Regions from separate parts of the Homo sapiens genome. Here region 1 is linked to region 2. The links are contacts of gene promoters, found by promoter capture Hi-C in blood cells and fetal thymus (Javierre and others, 2016). All regions are on one chromosome and are shown on one strand. Each heading gives the region's core, a stretch centred on a gene start or on the middle of the fragment in contact. The rest is flanking DNA. Distances are from core to core; before and after follow the strand shown. Region 1 has its middle 57 kb from the start of C13orf42. Region 2 holds the start of KCNRG (potassium channel regulator).

Region 1 (5,275 bases), core at 2,767-5,266, 1.0 Mb after region 2:
CTTCTTAGGTGGACATACCCAGCCTCCACGACCCAGCCTCTGCACCCACTCCTCACCTCCAGCCATTTATCCCATACATCCATTCCTCCAGCTACTCAAACTCCTCTCTTCCCTGCCTTCCCACAGGCTCTGCTCCACTAGAAAAGCTCTCACTTTCCCTGATCTGGCTAACTTGATTCTTCCTTCCCAACTCAGTGTCAGAATCCCGATTCTGGACATTCTCAGCCACTTGCAGATCCGGGCGTCCCTGCTCTGAGCCCCCCGTGCTCTCTGTATCACCTGTCTTCGTGCTAACTGCGAGTGGAATTGATTTGCCCATCTGCATGCTTCCTAGACTACCAAGTTGAAGGATCATGACAATGTCATTTGATTTAATATCTTCAATACCTAGCCCTGTACCTGGCACACAACAAGTACTCAATAAATAATTGTAAGATAATTTCGGTGAGAGACCTAACTTGACAGAGGCTCACAGACTCTGTGTGTCAGGAGGAGACCTAGGAGTTAACCCTGGCTCTACCACCATCTAGCTGGATGACTTGGAGCAAATCTCACTGTGCCTCCATTTCTTCATTTTTACAAAGATAGTATTCAACTAGGTCATTGTCATGAAGACTGTCATGTCTGGTCCTCCCCTTCTCTCCCTCAGCCACCAATGATGTCTCCTTCCTTGACCTCTGATTCACTTAGAAGGATGCTTAAGGCATTTAAGCCAGCAGTTCTCAAAGTATGACCCATGGAACCCCTGCGAATACCTAAGGTGTTTTTAGGAATCCATGAGGCCAAACTATTTTCAAAACCAAATTAAGACATTATTTGCCTTTTGTACTGATTCATATTTGCACTAATGGCACATAAGCATTGGTGAGTAAAATTTGGTGCCTTATAGCATGAATCAAGACAGTGGCACAAAACTATTATATTCTTTTTTTAAATCTTCAGTATATTATTTATAGTCATCATATCCCTCATTGTCACATATGTGCAGTAAAAAAAAATGCCAGTTTTACTTTAGGTTGTTCATTTTGAGGTAGTAAAAATTACTAATGTTATGAAATCTTGACCCTGAGTATACATCTTTTGAATATTTTGTGTAACAGAATGGGAAGTACGCACTCAAATAAAGTACTTCTCCTATATGCAGGAGTGTGAATGGTCACTTCCAGGAAAAGTACTTACACGATTGAGTTATGAGATGAATTAGCCACTTTTTTTAATGGAACATCATTTCCACTTAAAAAACCACTGACAGACGAACTATGGTTACTCAGACTTGGATATTTGGCACACATTCTCTTAAGAAAATAACAAAGTTAGCCTGTCACTTCAAGGAAAATAACTGGCAGAATGTGTTGCCAATGACAAAACTCAAGTTTGGGGAAAAAAGTTGCATCTTATACTGTAAGCTTATTAGCATCCCAATCCTTAGAGGCTAAGGTGATGATGATATTGACAAATGCAATTTTGATATTGTATAGTGAAACATGTCAACATTTGTAAGATTAGCACAAGTCAGTGAGCTAATAGTTTCCAAATAACTCATGCAAGCTAGTACAAAATGATGCGAAAAAATTTCTATCCAAGTGTAACACAGATCAAGAGATTTTAATATAACAGAGTACGAAGAAGGTCATCAGTACAGTTACAGATTCAACATTATAACTGACCTTTGAGAAAATACGATTTGTCAAGCTTTTGTGAGGTTTAAAAGAATAGCCACAATTATCTGAGAAGAGTATTAAATTCTTCTTCCTTCCATATTTTCTTCACAAGTTTCAACCAAAATCATATCACAGAATACATACATTGCGGAAGATGGAATCCCACTTCCATTACTTCCATTAAGTCAGATATTAAAAGAGATTTCCAGAACTGTAAAGTAATGCCATCTTGTCATTAATTTATTTGAATAATATAGTTATCATAAAAATGTTACACTAACATGTACTATTATGTATTACAGCATAATTATATAACATATAATTATTTTAGATAAATTTAAAAATGTTTTTTTAATTTGTTTTAATTTCTAATACCATAAATACCCATAGATTAAACAAAAGCTCTGTGGGGTCTTCAATAATTTATGAGAGTATAAAGGCTTCTGAATACCAAAGTGTTTAAGAACTTCTGATTTAAATCAAGAGTGCTTCAGGTTTGCTTTGGAAGCTAATGAAGCTGAGGTTTCCAGGACAGGGAGGAAGCAGCCTCACCTGGCCCCCTCTAGCTTGAAGCCATCCCCAGCCTGAGGGGTCACCTTATATGCCCTGGTAGTGGTCCTGGATGCCTGTGGGTGGGGCTGCAGACCACCCAGTCCTCAGGACCACTTGCTTCTGGTAGACTCAACACACATCCAGACTCTACTCTAACCCCCAAAAAGGCATCTGAAAGAGAGGCTGCGCATTCCCAGTGGGGACCGCCTGGTCCAAGAGGACTTGCGTAAAAGTAGGGGAGATGGGTGGAACAGGTCGAGGGAGATCAAACGCTGGAGTTTTCCCAGGACTTGCCAACATGAAAGAAGCACACTTCAGCAAGAAACTGCTGAGAAAGTTATGGATGTGCATAAAGAAATTTGTCTAAGCTAACAATGAAAACAAAATACAATAAATACAATTTTCAGCCAGCCATGCTAGAATATTCATTCTATCCTCTTTATAGAAAATGACATTATAAAATCATTGTCCAATGAACAGAAAAAGCAAAATACAGCCAAAGATGCAGGAAAGTATTATAAAAGAGGGTTAGTTAATTTATGATACTAACAATAAAAACATGTTTCCAGCTTTTGATGTTTATGTTATCTGTCAGCTTTAAAGTTTTCTTCCTTAATTCTAAGAAGAGTACTTATTTTTGTAGCTAAATTTTTATTGGTAATTATATTCTTTTTAAAGGAGGCTTCCCAAATTATATAAGCTTCAGGCCTCGTGATATCTGTTTCTACTCCTACTAAGTTTATCTTCCAGGCCCTGCGCAGTGGCTCATGCCAGTAATCCCAGCACTTTGGGAGGCCAAGGTGGGCAGATCACTTGAGGTCAGGGGTTCGAGACCAGCCTGGCCAACATGGTGAAAACTTGTCTCCACTAAAAGTAAGAAAATTAGCCAGGTGTGGTGGAGTATGCCTGTAATCCCAGCTACTCAGGAGGCTGAGGCAAGAGAATAGCTTGAACCCTGGGAGGCAGAGGTTGCAGTGAGCCAAGATCGCGTCACTTCATTTCAGCCTGGGCAACAGAGCGAGACTCCATCTCAAAAAAAAAAAAAAGGAAGAAGAAAATTTATCTTCCATATAGTCATACTAAACAAAAGTATTTCTCAAGCTTTACCTTTGACAGCTTTTGTTAGAAAAAAATACTTCTGCTTTGTATATTTAATATTATAATATTCACTATATTTTTAGAATTTCCCACAGATATTCTCATATGATCTTTTGGAGGCTGAGTCCTCCAGGTGAAATGCTCTGACCAGATTGATTTCTAAGGGCCCTTCTGGCTCTGAGGGGCTGTGGTTTCAGGCAGCTAGATGAACCAGCAAAAATGTTTGTGGCCAGGAAAGGGACAGAAGTGGGGAGACAAGCAACATTTTTGGATCAAAGTTAAAAATAAAAACTCTCTGCTTTCAGCTACTTTTAAACTAGACTTTATTTATGGGAAAAGTAGATAACATGGAGGGCCAGGGGTTTTCAGTCTTGAAGAGAGGGTGAGAAATTTGGTGAGTCAATTGGATGGACGAGGGATAGCAGAAAAGGGAATGAATGAATTCTGACTTTTTCTGGCTCAATTAGCTTTGCGATATACTGGGCTCGAAGGAATGCTTCTCAGGATGTCACAATGTTAACAGCCTTTTTTTTTTTTTTTTTTTTGAGATGGAGTCTCACACTGTCACCCAGGCTGGAGTGCAATGGAGCGATCTCGGCTCACTGCAACCTCCGCCTCCCAGGTTCAAGCGATTCTCTGGCCTCAGCCACCCAAGTAGCTGGTGTTACAGGTGCTGGACCACACCTGGCTAATTTTTTTATATTTTTAGTAGAGACGGGGGTTTCACTATGTTGGCCCGGCCAGTCTCGAACTCCTGTCCTCATGATCTGCCCGCCTCGGCCTCCCAAAGTGCTGGGATTACAGGCGCGAGCCACTGTGCCCGGCCAGCATTTCCTATTTAGCAAGAACAAAAATCCCAAGGATTCATAATCAGGGTTCCTTGATTTTTTTTAGATTGTAGAGTTCTTAGAGATTCTGATGAAAACTATGAACCCTCTCCCCAGAAAATACATATAGTCACATGTACACGACATTTTAATAGATGACTTCGGAGGGTTCTCAGACCTTCTCAAGCCTATCCATGAACCTTTGGTTAAGAACCCATGACATAGAGAGAAGCCATGTAATCCCACCCACCTCTCTCCTAAATGGGTTGGTTGGGCTTGGTAGTCATCCATCCACCTCTCATTCATTTATTCATCTTCCATTCATACACACATGAATCATCCAATCATTCATTCCGTTTTCATGTATTTATTTATACAATGGAGAATATACGTCAGTCCTGATGGCTCTACCCATTACCTCTTCTTAGAGACCCCACCCTCCAAAGTCCATCTGAATGGGATACATATGGACTCCAGACCAAAGACCATCAAACCCTCTTTCTCAGGCATCTGCAATTGAGGCACTGAGAAACTGAGCCAGTCTGATGATGGTGATCTCTTGAATCCAAAGGGCATATAGAAAAGCTTGGAAGAAACAGAAATTAAGTCCAATCATGGTGGCATATACCTGTAATCCCAGCACTTTGAGAGGCTGAGGCAAGAGGATCACTTAAAGTCAGGAGTTTGAGACCAGCCTGGGCAACAAAGCAAAAGCCTGTCTCACCAAAAAATAAAATAAGATAACCAGGCACAGTGCCATGTGCCTCTTATCCTAGCTACTCAGGAGGCTGAGGCAGGAGGATCACTTGAGCCCAGGATTTGAGGCTGCACTGACCTATGAACATGCCACTGCACTCCAGCCTGGGTGACAGAAAAAAAAAAAAGGAACAGAAATCAAAAGACTTTCAGAGAGAAGAGATAACCAGGAAAATAGAGTAAACGTGAAGGGAGATGCAGAGTTGGAAACAGACCTGCTGACTTTCTGTTTCCTCTGAGATTTATCTGTACTTCCTGCAATTGAGTTCTGTTAGAGTCTTCTGAATCTTTATAGTAACTCCTTTAAACATTAGCTTACATAGTGGATTGCTGATCCTTGGAAGTAAAATCCTGGACTAAGTTCTGCAAACAAAGTGCCAA
Region 2 (4,920 bases), core at 283-2,782:
ACACACACGCGTGTGTGGGAGACAACTAAAGGTATTGAAGGTACTAATTAATTAGATTTCCAAAATTTTCTACAGAGAGTTAATTATCACCAAAATGTGAATGGTACATACAAAACCTGGCATTTTCTTGTGATAAGTTTACATTTTTAGGAGAGTGGAGCTTTCAATCTGCCCTTTTCTCCTTTGTTTTTGTAGTTTTCACCAAAGATGATCAACTAGAAATGTTAAGTGGCTATGCAAGCAAAAGCATAGATAGGTTAAAAAAAAGGATCAGCTGGCTGGGCAGGGTGGCTCATGTCTATAATCTCAGCATTCTAGGACAGTGATGTGGGAGGATTATTTGAGGCTAGGAGTTCCAGTTCGAAACCAGCTTCGTAAACATAGCAAGACCCAGTCTCTACCAAAAAAAAAAAAAAAAAAAAAAAAAAAAAAAATATATATATATATATACACACACACACACACATATGTACACATACATATATATACATATATATGTATATATAGAACACATGGCAAGAGCAGGAAATGGGAAGACTACCTTTTTTCTGGCAGCTATGTGTTGTTTTGTTCGAAAGATGGCAAGTGTACAACCAAACCAATCCACTTGCTTACAGAAAGAATGTTTAGTGTAGTTAAGACTAATTTGACAACAGATAAAACAGTCTGTCAGCTATTACAAAGTAATCAGCTGAACACTAATGCTGTTCTGTCTGCTCACAAGAGATAAAGATACCCTCTCATGGAATAAACACCTTGCTTAGAATTCATATAACAAAGAAGTAACCTTATAACTGCTCTCTAGTCTGCCTTATTTGTGTCATAGAGTAAGATATTCCTTGAAAGCCCATTAAGTGGAATAGACTTTCTGAAAATAAGAGTTCTTTACCTCAGTCCTCCTCTAATTTGGTTGAGAGGAGGTAATGAAAATGGGGACAGGATAAAAGGTGGCAACTAAATTTAAAGCACAGAAGAAATGATTTCCTTCTAGCTATGAGAATAGTCAAATTGAGCTTGCCAGGCTGTCTCATTCCTAACATGTAATTCATGATTTAGCCACTAAATTTCTAAGGAGATCATAAGAAATTAAGAAAAACGTTTAAGTCTAGCCTCTGCGTGGTAGACAGGTATGGGGAGGGAGAATGCTTTTCCCCTCCCAGTAATAAAAAAAAAAAAAAAAAAAATATATATATATATATATATATATATATATATATATATATATATATATATATATATAGTTTTACTAGGTTTTCATGGATAAGTTTTTAAATGTAAGACAGGAAAGGGATCTATTTGATGTCTATCTTCAGATATATTGGCAGTTTTCCTTAAGCTATTTAGTTCCTCATCTGTTGCTTTTTCATTTTGTATACTGCAAGTTCCCAGGCAACTCGAATTTGCAAACACAGCCATGGATACACTATTTACCTTACAGTAGTTTCCTGGGAATCTAAGTCTGGTTTTTGTTATTCTTCCCTCCCCTCCACTGCATAATCATGTATAACTAGCAACATTTATGGTTATAGGTTGATTTCCTAAGTGTGGCTGATGGTAGCCTCTAGTTTGAAGTGAGGGAAGAATGAGTAGTCAGGAACTGGTCACTTTGAATGTGGGAGGGAAGATATTCACGACAAGGTTTTCTACGATAAAGCAGTTTCCTGCTTCTCGTTTGGCACGCATGTTAGATGGCAGAGACCAAGAATTCAAGATGGTTGGTGGCCAGATTTTTGTAGACAGAGATGGTGATTTGTTTAGTTTCATCTTAGATTTTTTGAGAACTCACCAGCTTTTATTACCCACTGAATTTTCAGACTATCTTAGGCTTCAGAGAGAGGCTCTTTTCTATGAACTTCGTTCTCTAGTTGATCTCTTAAACCCATACCTGCTACAGCCAAGACCTGCTCTTGTGGAGGTACATTTCCTAAGCCGGAACACTCAAGCTTTTTTCAGGGTGTTTGGCTCTTGCAGCAAAACAATTGAGATGCTAACAGGGAGGATTACAGTGTTTACAGAACAACCTTCAGCGCCGACCTGGAATGGTAACTTTTTCCCTCCTCAGATGACCTTACTTCCACTGCCTCCACAAAGACCTTCTTACCATGACCTGGTTTTCCAGTGTGGTTCTGACAGCACTACTGATAACCAAACTGGAGTCAGGTATTTTGTACTTTGCAGTATTTCTCTTGTATACCAGTTTGTGATGTTTTCTCTAAAAACTTGAAGTTCCTCAGGCCTGTAACTTCTGGAAAAGATGATTATTCAAAATAATGTTTTGGGGTAACCAGTGGAGTTGGGTAGAATGACCAAATAATTATTTTCCAAACTGGGATACTTTTTAGAGTGAAAGGGGCTATTATTAGGTGGGACAAAAGGAATAAATGAAGACTGCCCAGAAAAAACTGAGACTATGGACATTCAAATCATGGGAGAAAATAATTTTGTAGATTATGTTCCATTGCTAATGAATTTGACTTAGAAAAGAATTGCCTTATTTTTAAGAGATTGTTTCAGTGGTTCACATAAAGGCTCGCTCACTGGTTTCTCTTGAGTTCCTTACACACTATATAAGTTGTTCTTTCAGTTTTATGATTCAACTACTGTTTTTCCTTCAGCTGACTTTATTTTTAAACACCCTTAAAGACAGATATATCTCATGGCAAATTTGGTATCCTGTTACAGCCTTGGCTCTTAAACAACTCAAAATATTGGGATAGGCTGTCAGTATGTTAAGGATAGTTGCTCCTGAGTCAATTCTTCACTTACTCCCTCTGTTGTTCTTGGCTGGATCCTAACGCTGATTTCCACTCTGCTGTCACAAACATTTTTCCCCCCGTAAAATGTCTTAATGCTGTCCTACCATTATTTTACCAACTGTGAAAGCTGGCTTTAATTTTTAGGAGGAAAAGAAAAGCCTGCATGTGTTCTTTATTGGTATCATTTAAAATATACTTTTTTTTTTTTTTTTGGTAAAGGTAGGCGTATTTTAAGATATTTTCTTAACTTGAGCAGTAGCCAACAGGAAGGATACCAGTGTCTCTCTCTCTTAGCGACACACTCCTTGGTCTTGCTTACCAACTGGAGGACACTAGGTAGAATAACCGAGTATGACAATTCTTAATTGTTTACATTTTATAACTTCCTGTCCTTCAAAAGAGTTTGAAATGTCATTTTGGGAAAAGAGAGCCAGTCAAGCTAGTAGGCTGATTGTGAAGAAAATCTAATACCTTATCTTTATCTCAAACCTCTGTACAACTTTATTTTCATTGATGGGATACTTTAACAAAAATGAAATTTTTTTTGGTTTTTAAAATATGAGTGATTATGACCTCTTTGGGGATCATGCTTCAAAAAGTCAGAAACCTAGAGACAAAACTGTCATTGATTTTTAAGAAGAAACACACTAGGTCAAAAGAAGATGTCCTGGAAATACGAAGTACTCTTTAAAAACCATGCATTTGGAGAAAGTAATTGTTTCCTTGAAAAACATGATTAAAAACTAAAACTGGGATGTTCCTGTGTGTACACAGTGCCAAATGGTTTTCCCTTTTTATGTTGTGTTTTAGAAACAGCACGAAAGTTTTTTCCATTTTAAAGTGAGAAAACATTATATTTAGACTTCCATAATTCCAAAATCAGAAGCTATTTTTAAAATTAGCATTTTCTTGCATCACCAAATGGTATTCAATTGTTTGAAGCTCAAAATTTTTACCATTCCATAAATGTTTGTGAATTTTTAGACAGTGCCAATTTAAAAGTAGAGATAGCCAATCTGAATACGGTGAAATTATGGGGATCTCTGGTGATTGGGATGAAAACTCTGGCCTTAAAAGGTCCACTTTTAGTATATAATTGCCTAATTAGCAATCATTTTTATTTTTTGCTCACTCCCTGGTCTGAATCTATCTGTCTATTCAGATATTTTTTGGTAGGTTTGGAAAATGGAGAAGTGAGCCTAATTGGTGCCTAATTGTCTGGTGTATCATTCACTTTATTCAGTTTGTTCTATCAATATGATTTACCCCTCAAGGTTAACCTAGCAGGTTGCTCAGTTATTATCTCTCAAGGTCACAGTACTAGAAATACTTGGCTTGCATCTTTCAGATGCCATTCATGTTATCAAGCTCAAATTATAGTTGGTCACAGGATTCTAAAGTCTTTATTTGACTTCTCCTTTTTGAACTGGCTCAAATGGAAAAGTGTAGTTGCTTTTAAATGTTAAAAATAAGTTTAAACTTTATATTTCCCATTGGTTTCCCCTATTTTGTCCTTTCTTTGTGTGCTTGAAATATTTTATTTTTCAGTTTGTCCTCATAGGGAATCAAGTATTTTAGCTAGGTGATGTCTTGCAAGTACGTTCCACTTTGTTACAATCTACTATCTGTATATACTATTTGTATCTTAATTCTTTTATGAGATGTTCTGTAACATTTTTCTCACTTTGACAAATGTTTTTAGACTGTACAGTCAAGATCTGGCGCTTGGGGGTAAGTGGAATGATTTGCTAATATTGAGAATCTGTTGTATCAAACATAATAAACTTTTTTTGAGATGTGCTTTGTAGTTTGGTAATTCTTAGATTTTACTATTGGTTTCTTTGCTTAGAATGAGTTTCTAAATGTGAACTACAAAAACCACTCTACTTCAAGCATGATCATTAGAAGAAGGTTAGGGATGTCCCCAAGCATCATTTTATCCCTTAAAACTACAGATAGTTTAGGTTTCTGCCTGAACTAATCTAAGTTAGCTTTTTCTTCACATCTCATAAACTAATGGTGGGAGGACACAAAGAGCTTTATGAAAACATTTTTGATGGCAGATAAGGACGGAGTCATAAAGCTGTATCCATGCAGATGTGTTATGCTGACATTATTGTTATTATTGAGATGGAGTTTCACTCTTGTTGCCCAGGCTGGTATG

The links. Contacts are between HindIII fragments. The CHiCAGO score rates a contact against its expected background, and 5 or more counts as called.
Region 1: a fragment that was not itself captured here is called in contact with the fragment with the promoter of KCNRG in region 2 in 1 of 17 cell types (fetal thymus); the score reaches 6.5 in fetal thymus.

What each region holds. Positions count from the first base shown.
Region 1 is chr13:51,051,666-51,056,940 of GRCh38, forward strand. It overlaps the pseudogene GUCY1B2. Among named protein-coding and RNA genes, the nearest start is that of C13orf42, 57 kb to the right of the region's middle. The HindIII fragment of the contact is 1,409 bases long and covers 3,313-4,721 here.
Region 2 is chr13:50,013,912-50,018,831 of GRCh38, forward strand. It overlaps KCNRG (potassium channel regulator), which reads left to right and starts at 1,533. Exons shown (of 2, transcript NM_173605.2): 1 at 1,533-2,160. The coding sequence starts at 1,583. It overlaps TRIM13 (tripartite motif containing 13), which reads left to right. Exons shown (of 2, transcript NM_213590.3): 2 at 1-4,556. All of the region lies in intron 10 of DLEU2 (deleted in lymphocytic leukemia 2), which reads right to left. The HindIII fragment of the contact is 12,687 bases long and covers 1-1,941 here.